2 separate regions of the Homo sapiens genome follow, and region 1 is linked to region 2. The links are contacts of gene promoters, found by promoter capture Hi-C in human tissues and cell types (Jung and others, 2019). All regions are on one chromosome and are shown on one strand. The core of a region is centred on a gene start or on the middle of the fragment in contact, and the rest is flanking DNA. Distances in the headings are between cores, read along the strand shown.

The links. The method cuts DNA at HindIII sites, captures the fragments that hold promoters and counts their contacts. A contact is called where the count stands out against the background at its distance.
Region 1: a fragment that was not itself captured here is called in contact with the fragment with the promoter of STEAP1 in region 2 in 1 of the 25 tissues and cell types used here (aorta).

The regions. Positions count from the first base shown.
Region 1 is chr7:90,353,706-90,359,123 of GRCh38, reverse strand. It overlaps GTPBP10 (GTP binding protein 10), which reads right to left. Exons shown (of 10, transcript NM_033107.4): 3 at 4,575-4,666; 4 at 3,894-4,038. It overlaps LOC107986715 (a long non-coding RNA gene), which reads left to right and starts at 86. Exons shown (of 4, transcript XR_001744961.2): 1 at 86-3,417. The HindIII fragment of the contact is 5,652 bases long and covers 360-5,418 here.
Region 2 is chr7:90,150,986-90,156,219 of GRCh38, reverse strand. It overlaps STEAP1 (STEAP family member 1), which reads right to left and starts at 1,751. Exons shown (of 5, transcript NM_012449.3): 1 at 1,677-1,751. All of the region lies in intron 2 of STEAP2-AS1 (STEAP2 antisense RNA 1), which reads left to right. RefSeq lists an enhancer at 2,995-3,535. The HindIII fragment of the contact is 4,545 bases long and covers 1-3,688 here.

The DNA of each region.
Region 1 (5,418 bases), core at 1,936-4,435, 200 kb before region 2:
GAGTTCTCTTTTCCCCACATCTATGTCAGCACGTATTGTTTTTTGACTTTTCCATAATGACCATTCTAGCTAAGTTGGTAAATCATTGTGGTTTTAATATGCATTTCCCTGAGTATTAGTGATGTTGAACATTTTCTTATATGCGTATTGGCCATTTGTATGCATATCTTCTTTTGAGAAATGTCCATGTCATTTGTCCACTTTTTAACGGAATTGTTTTTTCCTTGCTGATCTGAGTTCCTTGCAGACTCAGTATATTAGTCCTCTGTTAGATGCGTAGTTTGCAAATACTTTCTCCCATTCTGTAGGCTGTTTACTCTGTTGATTCTTTCTTTTGCTGTGCACAAGACTTTTACTTTAATTAGGTCCCACTTATGTATTTTTGTTGCATTTGGTTTGAGATCTTAGTCACAGATTCTTTGTCTAGGCCAATGTCCAGAAGGGTTTTTCCTAAGTGTTGTAGAATTTTTATAATTTCAGGTCTTAGATTAAAATCTTTAATCTATCTTAATTTTCGTATATAATGAGAGATATGAATGCAGTTTCATTATTCTACATTTGGATATCCAATTTTCTCAGCATCATTTTTTGAATAGGGTATCCTTTCCCCAGTTTATGTTTTTGTGTGCTTTGTTGACGATCAGTTGGTCTTAAGTATTTGGTTTTATTTCTGGGTTCTCTATTCTGTTCCATTGGTCTAAGTACCTACTTCTCTGTCAATACCATGCTGTTTTGGTTACTATAACCTTGTAATATAATTTGAAGTCAGGTAATATGATTCCTCTAGATTTGTTCATTTTGCTTAGGATTGCTTTGGATGTATTTCCATTTGTTTGTGTCATCTATGATTTCTTTCAGCAGTGTTCTGTAGTTCTCCTTGTAGAGATCTTTCTCGACCTTGGTTACGTATATTCTTTGGTATTTTATTTTTTGTAGCTATTGTAAAAGGGATTGAGTTCTTGATTTAATTCTCAGCTTGGTTGTTGTTGGTGTATAGCAGTGCTATTGATTTGTGTATACTGATTTTGTAACCTGAGAGTATACTGAATTCATTTATCAAATCTAGGAGTCTTTTGAAGGAGTCTCTAGGGTTTTCAAGGTATAAGATCATATGGTGGGCAAACAGATAGTTTGACTTCCTTCTTTCCAATTTGAATGCCCTTTTTTTCTCTTGCCTGATTGTTCTGGCTAAGACTTCTCTTTGCACACATCTTTGATTTCTTTCTTGGAATAAATGTCTACATGAAGAAATACCAGATAAAATACATGCTCATTTTAAAGGCTTTGATTATACTGCTAAATTTCCCTCAAGAAAGGCCCACCATGTATGAAAGACAGTACTAGGAATGGGGGTTACTTAAAACATTCATTGCTAAATCTCATTCATATATTTTCATTAAATTTATCCAACAAATATTTATTGAGCACTGACTTCGTATCAGGCAACATACTGAGCAATGAGACAAAATGATTCCCGCCTTCACAGAGTTCTTATTCAAATTTGAAGACGGTACTTCAAAAACTCTGCCAAACTTTCATTTGGAATAATGGTGGAATATTCTGCAAATATTAATTTGGAATTTTATAAAAGCGTATTAGCTGGAGGTATTTCAACAATTTCCCTCATTAAAAAAATCTTTCTGTCATGAATTTAAAATAAAATTATGTGAGGTTTCTTAATGACTTGTTTCTCCTGGAACATATAGTTTTTTCATACCCTGTTTCATCCAGGTTCTTATAGCTTTTGAAAAGCAAATTGCAGCTGTTTTTATCCATAATTATCACTAGCTGGACTTGCTTGTTTCCAACATCCTCATATTTTCATAATGATTGAGCACATAATGCAAGCAACTATTTCCAAGAAGATCAAAGTATGAATAGAAAGATGATGCTAATGACTGAATAACAGATATTTGAAATTTTTCTTGAAAAGTACCCAGTGAAAATTTTACAGGCTAAAATCCAACCTATGCAAAGATCAGATCTGACAACAGCAGCACAAATCTGTTAGTTGTACAATAACTTTCTTCTGTGATTCAGTCCATTTCCAAAACCAGCTAAAAGGATATCTACTTATGCTAGTATTCATAGTAGTAACTCTTCAAGAATAGTTGCCTAATTTAAAAACACTAGAAAATATGTTAAACATTCCACTTAAAAATCTTTTTCCCCCATTCTTGTTTGATATGCTTAAGAATCTTGATGCTTTAATTACAGACAAATTTCAAACCTACTTCTGAAAAGCCTAGTATTTCATTATATGCAGTTTTCCAGTAAGTTGGCAATATAATGATGATGAAGATAGCAGCTACAATTCATTGAACGTACAAAAATGCAAAGCATGTATTCTGCTGTAAATGCATTATCTTACCCACCAACATTTTAAGGAAAGACTTATCTCCATACACTATTAAAGATGAGAAAACAAATGACGTGGTGAAAAGCAAAAAACTATAGTGAAGGAAGAATGAGAGAAAAGAAAAGAAAAAAAGAAGAGAAAACAAAGGCTTAGAGAGGCTGTGTAATTTACCCAAGACCAGCTGGCCAGCCTCCAGAGGATTTGAGATCCTAACCTAAATAGTCTAACCTGAGTCCTCCATGCCACTCCACTTTTATGACTAAGCCGTGCTAGGCTCCTCTTAGACTGTAAAGTTGTCTCTTCAGAACTTGAAACACATGTTTATGCAAAATGCAACTGTGATTGGCTGGACTGCCAGTCTTGTCCATAAGACCCTATTAAGCCCATAATGTTCCTAAAAATATAGAGGATTATAGAACTTACATCTAATAACTCTTGTAACTGTGCTTTATTGAAAAAAATAAATGTAAATGGCAAGCCAGGATCACATCTTTCCTTGTTATAATTTTAGCAGGAATGGGGCCTCTGTGAACCCTAAACCAATGGTGGTAAGCTCTAGTGGCTGGTCAGGCAGGGCAAAAGACGAGGGATACAGACTTAAGAGTCTGGTAAAGAAGCAGTGAGATGACTGAAGAGGAACATGAAAAGAACTTAGAAAGAAGCTATGGGGAAGCAAAAAATAGAACTAGGAATTTGGAGTAGGACAGTAATAAGGCAGTTTTCCTTATCTTGTCCTTAAGCTTTCCATCTGAATAACTGTGTAATACTGTGATAGGGCCAGAGGGAGAGGATAGGAGGGAGGGGGGATGGGGGAGAGAGAGCAAATGCAAATTGAAGTTTTCTCTTCCTTTATGTATTCTGTATCTTACTATCTATCCCCTTCCAGTGGGCAGCTGCACTGCAAACCCCACAGCTAAACAGCATTATTTAATGAAAGAATGGAGGCTGGTGGAAGAGGACACTCTTGTGAGGCCTACATTGCTGAGACTAGATAGATCCTAAGCAGAGGCAAGAAGGATATACAGTCATAGCAGGATTCAATTTGGCGGCAACAGTGCGTAAGTCTGAGGATTGAGATTGTCTGTACTGGTCTTTAGCCATTTGATTAACGATACTTTAATGTCTCTATTAAGACCCAAAAGAGTTATGTCAACCATTTTTCCCTGTTTATTTCCTTCTATATATTTTTAATAATAATACGGTTTGTTTGGATTTATTATTAATATCTGGTAACATTATTTAACCATCTTGTAATATTGCATTTGATTGATTTTTCTTTCTTTATGCATTCTCTAACATTCCCACTGATCTATTCAATTGCTCTGGTCTTAATTTTATAAATAAGCAATAACTATGAAACTCTGTGTTGGCAATTTGAAAATAATATTTAGCAGCATATTTTCCAAGTACATACACAACACACAAATTCCATAAATTAGAAATAATTATGGCCCCAAATTACCATTTACATTTATTTTCTATTCAAGAACTCTCTCTCTGAAAGTATAATAATAAAAATATGAACGATACTTACCCTACTAGGCCTACATCAGCTATAAGTTTTAGATCAAGGTGAATTATTCGTTTCTGGCCTTTCAATGGTAAGAAATTTGTAAGTAATTTACCACCAAGACCTCCTTGAGCTACCAAAATTCTGTCATTTTCTTTATTGAGTTCTCCTTAAAAAGAGGGAGAGAAATACTTACAGCAAAGATTAATAAGTGAAATCACTAATGCAATATATTTCTTTCAGAAATACAGGCAAAGAAATGCAAAATTACAAATCTATAGATTAGTAAGTGAAATCATTAATGTAATATTTTACTTTCAAAAATACATGCCAGGAAATTCTCAATTACAAATCTATAATTAATAAGTAGAATCATTAATGTAATATTGTTCTTTCAGAAAAACAGTCCAGGAAATTCCAATTTACAAATCTATTAAAAGTTTGACCCCAGAAAAACACTTCAGTAAACAATTGAAAAGAGCCTAGTTATATATTTTAAGACCAAGTAAGAACTGTAACATCTTTAAAACAATCTTAAATCTAGCAGTCAATTTAACTTTTATAAGTTTTAAAAATGCTCTCTTATAGAATAGTAGCTAAAATTGTTAGTTAAAAAATCTTCTGAAACTCAAGAGAAGCTATTCCATTGTTTCATTTTAGAAAACGTGCACATTTTTACAACTTTTGGAGTTATAGTACACTCACCTATAATTTTACCATTTTCATCAGTTACTGAAATACCCACAGGCACAGGGATTTCACAGTCTTTTCCTTTGGAGCCTTTCAGTGCACTAATTCTACCAAAAAAAAAGTATATATATGTATGTATGTGTGTGTGTATATATACACACACACACATACACACAAAATGGTTTACAAAGAAGAGTAGCAATCAATTCTCTGGTTAACGCAGATGTTAAATGGTCAAACACGGGGTTTAAAAAAACTAAAATTATCCCTAATTATTTCTTTGCATTTTAGACTATTATATCCCACTAAAATGGCATTAAGTAATGATTTAAGTTACTAAGCTAACCACCAAAGGTCATTTTAACCCGAAACTAAAATATTGCAACCATGAAATGAAGAGATTATTGCTACAATACAAATAGGGTAGAAAAAGCCAGGCGTGGTGGCTCACGCCTGTAATCTCAGCACTTTGGGAGGCGGAGGCAGGAGGATCTCTTGAGTCCAGGAGTTCAAGACAAGCCTGAACACCATAGCACGACCCCATTTCTACAAAAAAAGAAAAATTTAAAAATTAGCTGGGCATGGTGGCACATACCCGTAGTCTCAGCTACTTGGGAGGCAGAGGTGGGAGGATCACTTCAGCCTGAAAGGTAGAGGCTGCAGTGAGCTATGATAGTGCCCACTACACTCAACCTAGGCAACAGAATGAGACTCTGTCTCAAAAAAAAAAGAAAAAATGAATCTATAAAAAAAAAAAGAAAATCCACCAAATAGCAAAGCTTTTAAAAAACTAACCTCAAATGAGAGTACTTACATTATAGAAGGCAAATCTGGCTACTCTTAAACTGCTCATAAAAGA
Region 2 (5,234 bases), core at 502-3,001:
AATCAAATGTAAGAAATAATTCACTATGTTTAGAAGATCTTTTAACTTTGAGGGTTGCAGTATCGTAAGGATGCTAACAAATCCACCTACATTTATTCAATATGAATTCATTAACTATATTGTGAACAACAATGTAAGGCAGGAGGAATGCAAAGTTAAATGAGATAAAGCCTCTGCTCTGAAAAACCTTGAGGTCTAGGAGAGAAGGCAGGCATTTCAACTGCATGGTAGAGCGATGTATCCTAGAGGAGGATAAAGTTTTACAGGCAGATGGTGGCATGGGAAGGGAAGTAGAGGAAAAGGCTCAGCGCTGTCTTCTAGACCCAGTCCTGGGGTAGCTAGCAGGTTGGCAGTGTTTGCTGACTGATGGCCACTACAAACGGAGTCTGGGTGGAAAACCAGAGTGGCCCTGGAGAGTTACCCAGCCATTTGTCTGCATGGTAAGGAGACCACACTCAAGAGCAAAGCCAAGGAAAAGCCCATGACAGTGAGGAAGCTTGTTGACTGTGTGGCCCACAGTCAACTCTATGCCCATAAGCCAGGAAAATAAACTATGAGTCAAATAAATTTGTTGGTTTCCATCAGACATTAACCAAAATGAAATTTAAGTTCTACAGTAAAATCTTTTCATAAAAAGAAAAATAACAGAAAACAACCTGGTGTTAAAATGTTAGGAACTCCAGAATTCGACCCAAAGTTCTCTTTCACCCCCTTTTAAAAAAAGTGAAGCATATTTCTAATGCGACTGCTGTTTTGCTGTACCAGGATGGCTGCCCTGGTGTTCCTAAATGTTGGCACAGCCCAACTTACTCATGTTTATGTCCCGCAGTTGAGAATATGAAGAAACCCAATGCCTGGAATACACTGTGGGTTGCATTGCATTTCCAACCTTTTATACTTTCAAGTGCACACTTGTTTTACATTTAACTAAGTGAAGTCGAGTTTTTTGTTTTTTTTTTTCACTGGGCTGTTTTTAAGCATTGCTTTCCCTCTGTGCTTAACATTCATGTTAAATGAATAACCTTTTATTACACGTCAGGATGTGGAGGGAAATGTATTTTACAAAAGTAACAAAGTAAGAAATTTGGAAGTGTACAAAAAATTTATGTCTACAAACACCTTCCAGTGGATTTGACCAGAATTACATATTTAAAGCCTTGATTGACTATTTTGGAGGGAACCTGAACCCCACCCAGATCCTGAAAGAGTAGGGCCAGTGTTCTAAGGACTAAAAATGAAAACCTCTGTTACCAGGAAACCCGAAGACGAGAAGTAGCACGATTTTAAGTACTGTGCACCAGTCATTCGTCAATGCACAGCAAACTCTGGCAACTTTGCCACGTTAAAAAACTTGCCATCAAAATCCAACCTGAGCACAAACTTAATAATCTACCACAACCTTAAGCCCCTAGCGAAAAGGCTTCCTGTGAGTCCCTGGCTCTCCCCAACCCCCGGCCCGGCCACAACCCAGCTGGGCTGGAAGGCAGCGCGCCCCAGAGCCGCGCATAAGCGGAGAATTGAGCAGCGCTCGCCCAGGAGGGCCGCTGTCCAGGTCACGAGAAGGCTTGCGACCCGCTACACCCCTCCCAAGACTGGGAGCGGGCGCCCAGCCTTGCAGGGACACGCGGGCGGACTCGAGGAGCAAACGGCCAGTGAGAACGATTCAAGGGACTCACCCACTCTTCGCCTTAGCTTGACCGTGAGTCTCGGCTGCCGCTGCTGCCCAGAGGTGCGGGCCCCACGCGGCGCCTGAGCCTCCAGAGCGCGGAGCCTCCAAGCCAGCTGCAGGCCCCGCCTCCTTGTCCGTTGCGCGTCCAGCGCCACCTGCTGGCGCCCCGCGTCCGCAGGGTTCCGGAACGTCCTTGGAGGCTAAGACTCCCCAAGTCGCACTCCGGCCTCTCCCAGTTTCCTCTCAAATGCCGTCTGCCCTGCACCTGAGGTCCGTTTCGCGCCCTCCAACCCCTCGCCTTTTGTTTAATCTCCACTAAGGAACGTTTGTGCATTTCTCTAGAGCAGTGGTTCTCAGACTTTAGCGTGTATAAGATTACCCGGGGGCTTATTAAAACACCGATTGTTGGGCTGTCCGCCCACAGTTTCCGGTTCAGTATGTCTGGGATGGGGTCTGAGATTCTCATTTGTAACAAGTTCCCATGAGATATGGAAGCATTCCCAGATCACACTTTGAGATAGACCGTTTAGAGCTTACAAACCCTCCCACACGTTAGCTTATTTATTTTTATTTTATTTTTATTTTTTTTGAGACGGAGTCTCAGTCTGTTGCCCAGGCTGGAGTGCGGTGGCGCGATCTTGGCTCACTGCAACCTCCAGCCCCGGGTTCAAGCGATTCTCCTGCCTCAGCCTCCCGAGTAGCTGGGATTACAGGCGCCTGCCACTGTGCCCGGCTAATTTTTGTATTTTCAGCAGAGACGGGGATTTCACCATCTTGGCCAGGCTGGTCCTGAATTCCTGACCTCGTGATCCACCCGCCTCGGCCTCCCAAAGTGCTGAGATTACAGGCGTGAGCCACCGCGCCCAGCCACCTTATTTAAAACCTAACAGCCGGTCCTGAAGTGGCTGTGATTGACAGTTTGAGGAATCCGAAGCTGAATTTCTGAGAGTGACTTGCTCCCTGAATTGTTCAAATTGTGTACCTTTAATCGCACAAACCCTGCTCCCCAGCCGAAAAAAAAACCCTTAAACCCCATGTTTACTCCGTCCCTCCCTTCCTTGCCTTAGCTTTTAAGTGCAGCTTCCCATATCCTAGCTCAATGAAGTATTCCAAACCTAAAGTAAAGTTAACTGTTAATATTCCAAGGTTTTAGAAAAAGACAACTTGAGCAGGGGATTTACTTCTCTCCGTTGGAACCAGCCTCAAGATAGGGTCTGAGACATGAATTGCAAAATTCTGGGGATTTGGTATACAACATTCTCAGGACTAAGCTGAGTAGAAAACACAAAGGAAAATAAACGCGCAACCACATTTTCCATGATTGTTTTTTATTCACTGCTAGGGCACCGAAGACTGTTCATGTTTTTTTTTTTTTTTTTTTTTTTTTTTTACTTTTTTTTTTTTAATTATTATTATTTTTTTTTATTGATCATTCTTGGGTGTTTCTCGCAGAGGGGGATTTGGCAGGGTCATAGGACAATAGTGGAGGGAAGGTCAGCAGATAAACAAGTGAACAAAGTTCTCTGGTTTTCCTAGGCAGAGGACCCTGCGGCCTTCCGCAGTGTTTGTGTCCCTGAGTACTTGAGATTAGGGAGTGGTGATGACTCTTAACTAGCATGCCGCCTTCAAGCATCCGTTTAACAAAGCATGTTTTAATATAAGTATTTTCTGTAGTCACTGACTTTCCTTGGATTAGTTTAAAGCCCTTTGAAGCTTAAATTACCGTGGACTGACACCTTGTGGTGGAAATAGAATCTTACACCTGTTGTTTCTAGTGAAACTAGAAAATAATTTAAAAGTTTTAGAAAAGAAATCTGTGTAATCTTTGTATGTGTAGCACAGACTACAAAGAATTAAGACTTTTTAACTAAGCATTGTTGAGTTTTAAAAGTGATCATGGGTCTTAAATGGTCAGACAAAACGATATGCTTTTATTGTTTAACATTTGGTAGAACAAAGGTCATTCTGTTTTTCACAATCTATTTTCCATATGAAAAGGGCAAAGAGTTATTATTGTGTTAACATAATAATATATATTCATATGAATATGGCTATATAGCAAGCTGCACTTAAAACTGCTTTTCCTTTTCTAATTAAAACATTTAAAATCAAACCCCAAATATTTTTGTTTTATAATTAGACTTTAGCAATTTTATTTCTGCACTTCTTATAAAAGGTTTTTTTGCCCAATATTTTAGTGTGGAGAATAAATAGAGTATGTTCCAAAGTAAAATGATTAAAAGTGTGAGATTATTTATCAATTAGTTTGTAGATATTATAAAAGAAACACAATATTCGATTAAGAAAAACATATTACTAAAAAGCTTTTATTGAGTTGCCAGGAGTTAGTATCATAGATGAACTATCTGCAATTTTTGCATACAAATAACCTGTAATTTGAGGTGTGAGATAAAGAAAAAAAATTTTTGTGGTGGGGGCGGGTAATACAATGCCAGAGCATCTCAGAATGCTGAGTCAGCCTCTTTAGCACATACTTTTAAAAACAAGTGTGGCTTGTGGAAAGCCACATTATGCTATTGCAAATGTTGAAAGGCAAGTTGCTAGTTTTGCTGTGACTCTAAACAACTAGAGGATTTAAAATGGGAGTTCGCCCATGAGTTACCAATAAATTTGGATCTTTCAGAATATTCTGTAATAAACTTAAACTATAGTGAGAGCGCATATTAACATAATGGACCTCAGTGTTATTTGAGGTCAAATACTAAACTGGTGACTTCATAATAACATGCTGTGGAGAAAATATAATTTAGAATCCACGAGTATTTTTGCCTGTCAAATAAGCAACCTGATCTTAGAACCTGATGAGACGACCATTTTAAAAGTAAATGAAATACTATGGTGTGAGAGATAAAATAAAAAATATCATACTATTAAAGATAATCACAATGAGAAATAGACAGTAAATTTTAAGTGAATGACAAGAATTATATTAAGTTTTTTCCTTTGGAAATCTAACTCCTGAAGGGACAGCAATTTAAGTAATGATCAACACTATTTCCAAGTCTGCCTCTTACGAAAGAAGAATGGTCAGACTTTTATTTTAAACGACTGCAAAAATTACCTAAGTTCAAGAAGAAATATTTGTCAAAATGATGTTTTAAGACAGACATGATAAGGCTTCACTGGCCAAAATTTCTGATTCTGTTAACCTCATATGATACATTCTCTTTACTAGTTCAAGATCTACTGTAATCTTCAAAGTATGTGGTCAGTTTGTCCCTCGTGTCTGCGTTTAAAAGTGGTTGGGGGTAGAGAGGAGGTCTGTTCTTGGGACTGGAGGTTTTAACTATTCTTCTGAATTCTTTCTCCCAAACTCAAAGTCCCTTATTGCTCTTTCACCAAGACAGGCAACAGTAAACATCTTTTCAGGTAGGTTGTAAGAGTAGGTGCTTCATTTCCAAGCTCACAGATCTCTGCCTGAGTACTGTTCAGTGATGTTCAAAATGCCGTGATATATTCCATTGGCTTTAAATATGTTGCGATCTATGAAAAGACTAAAGTTCCTGGCAATGGTACCATATTAAGCCTTATCAGTTATTTACAT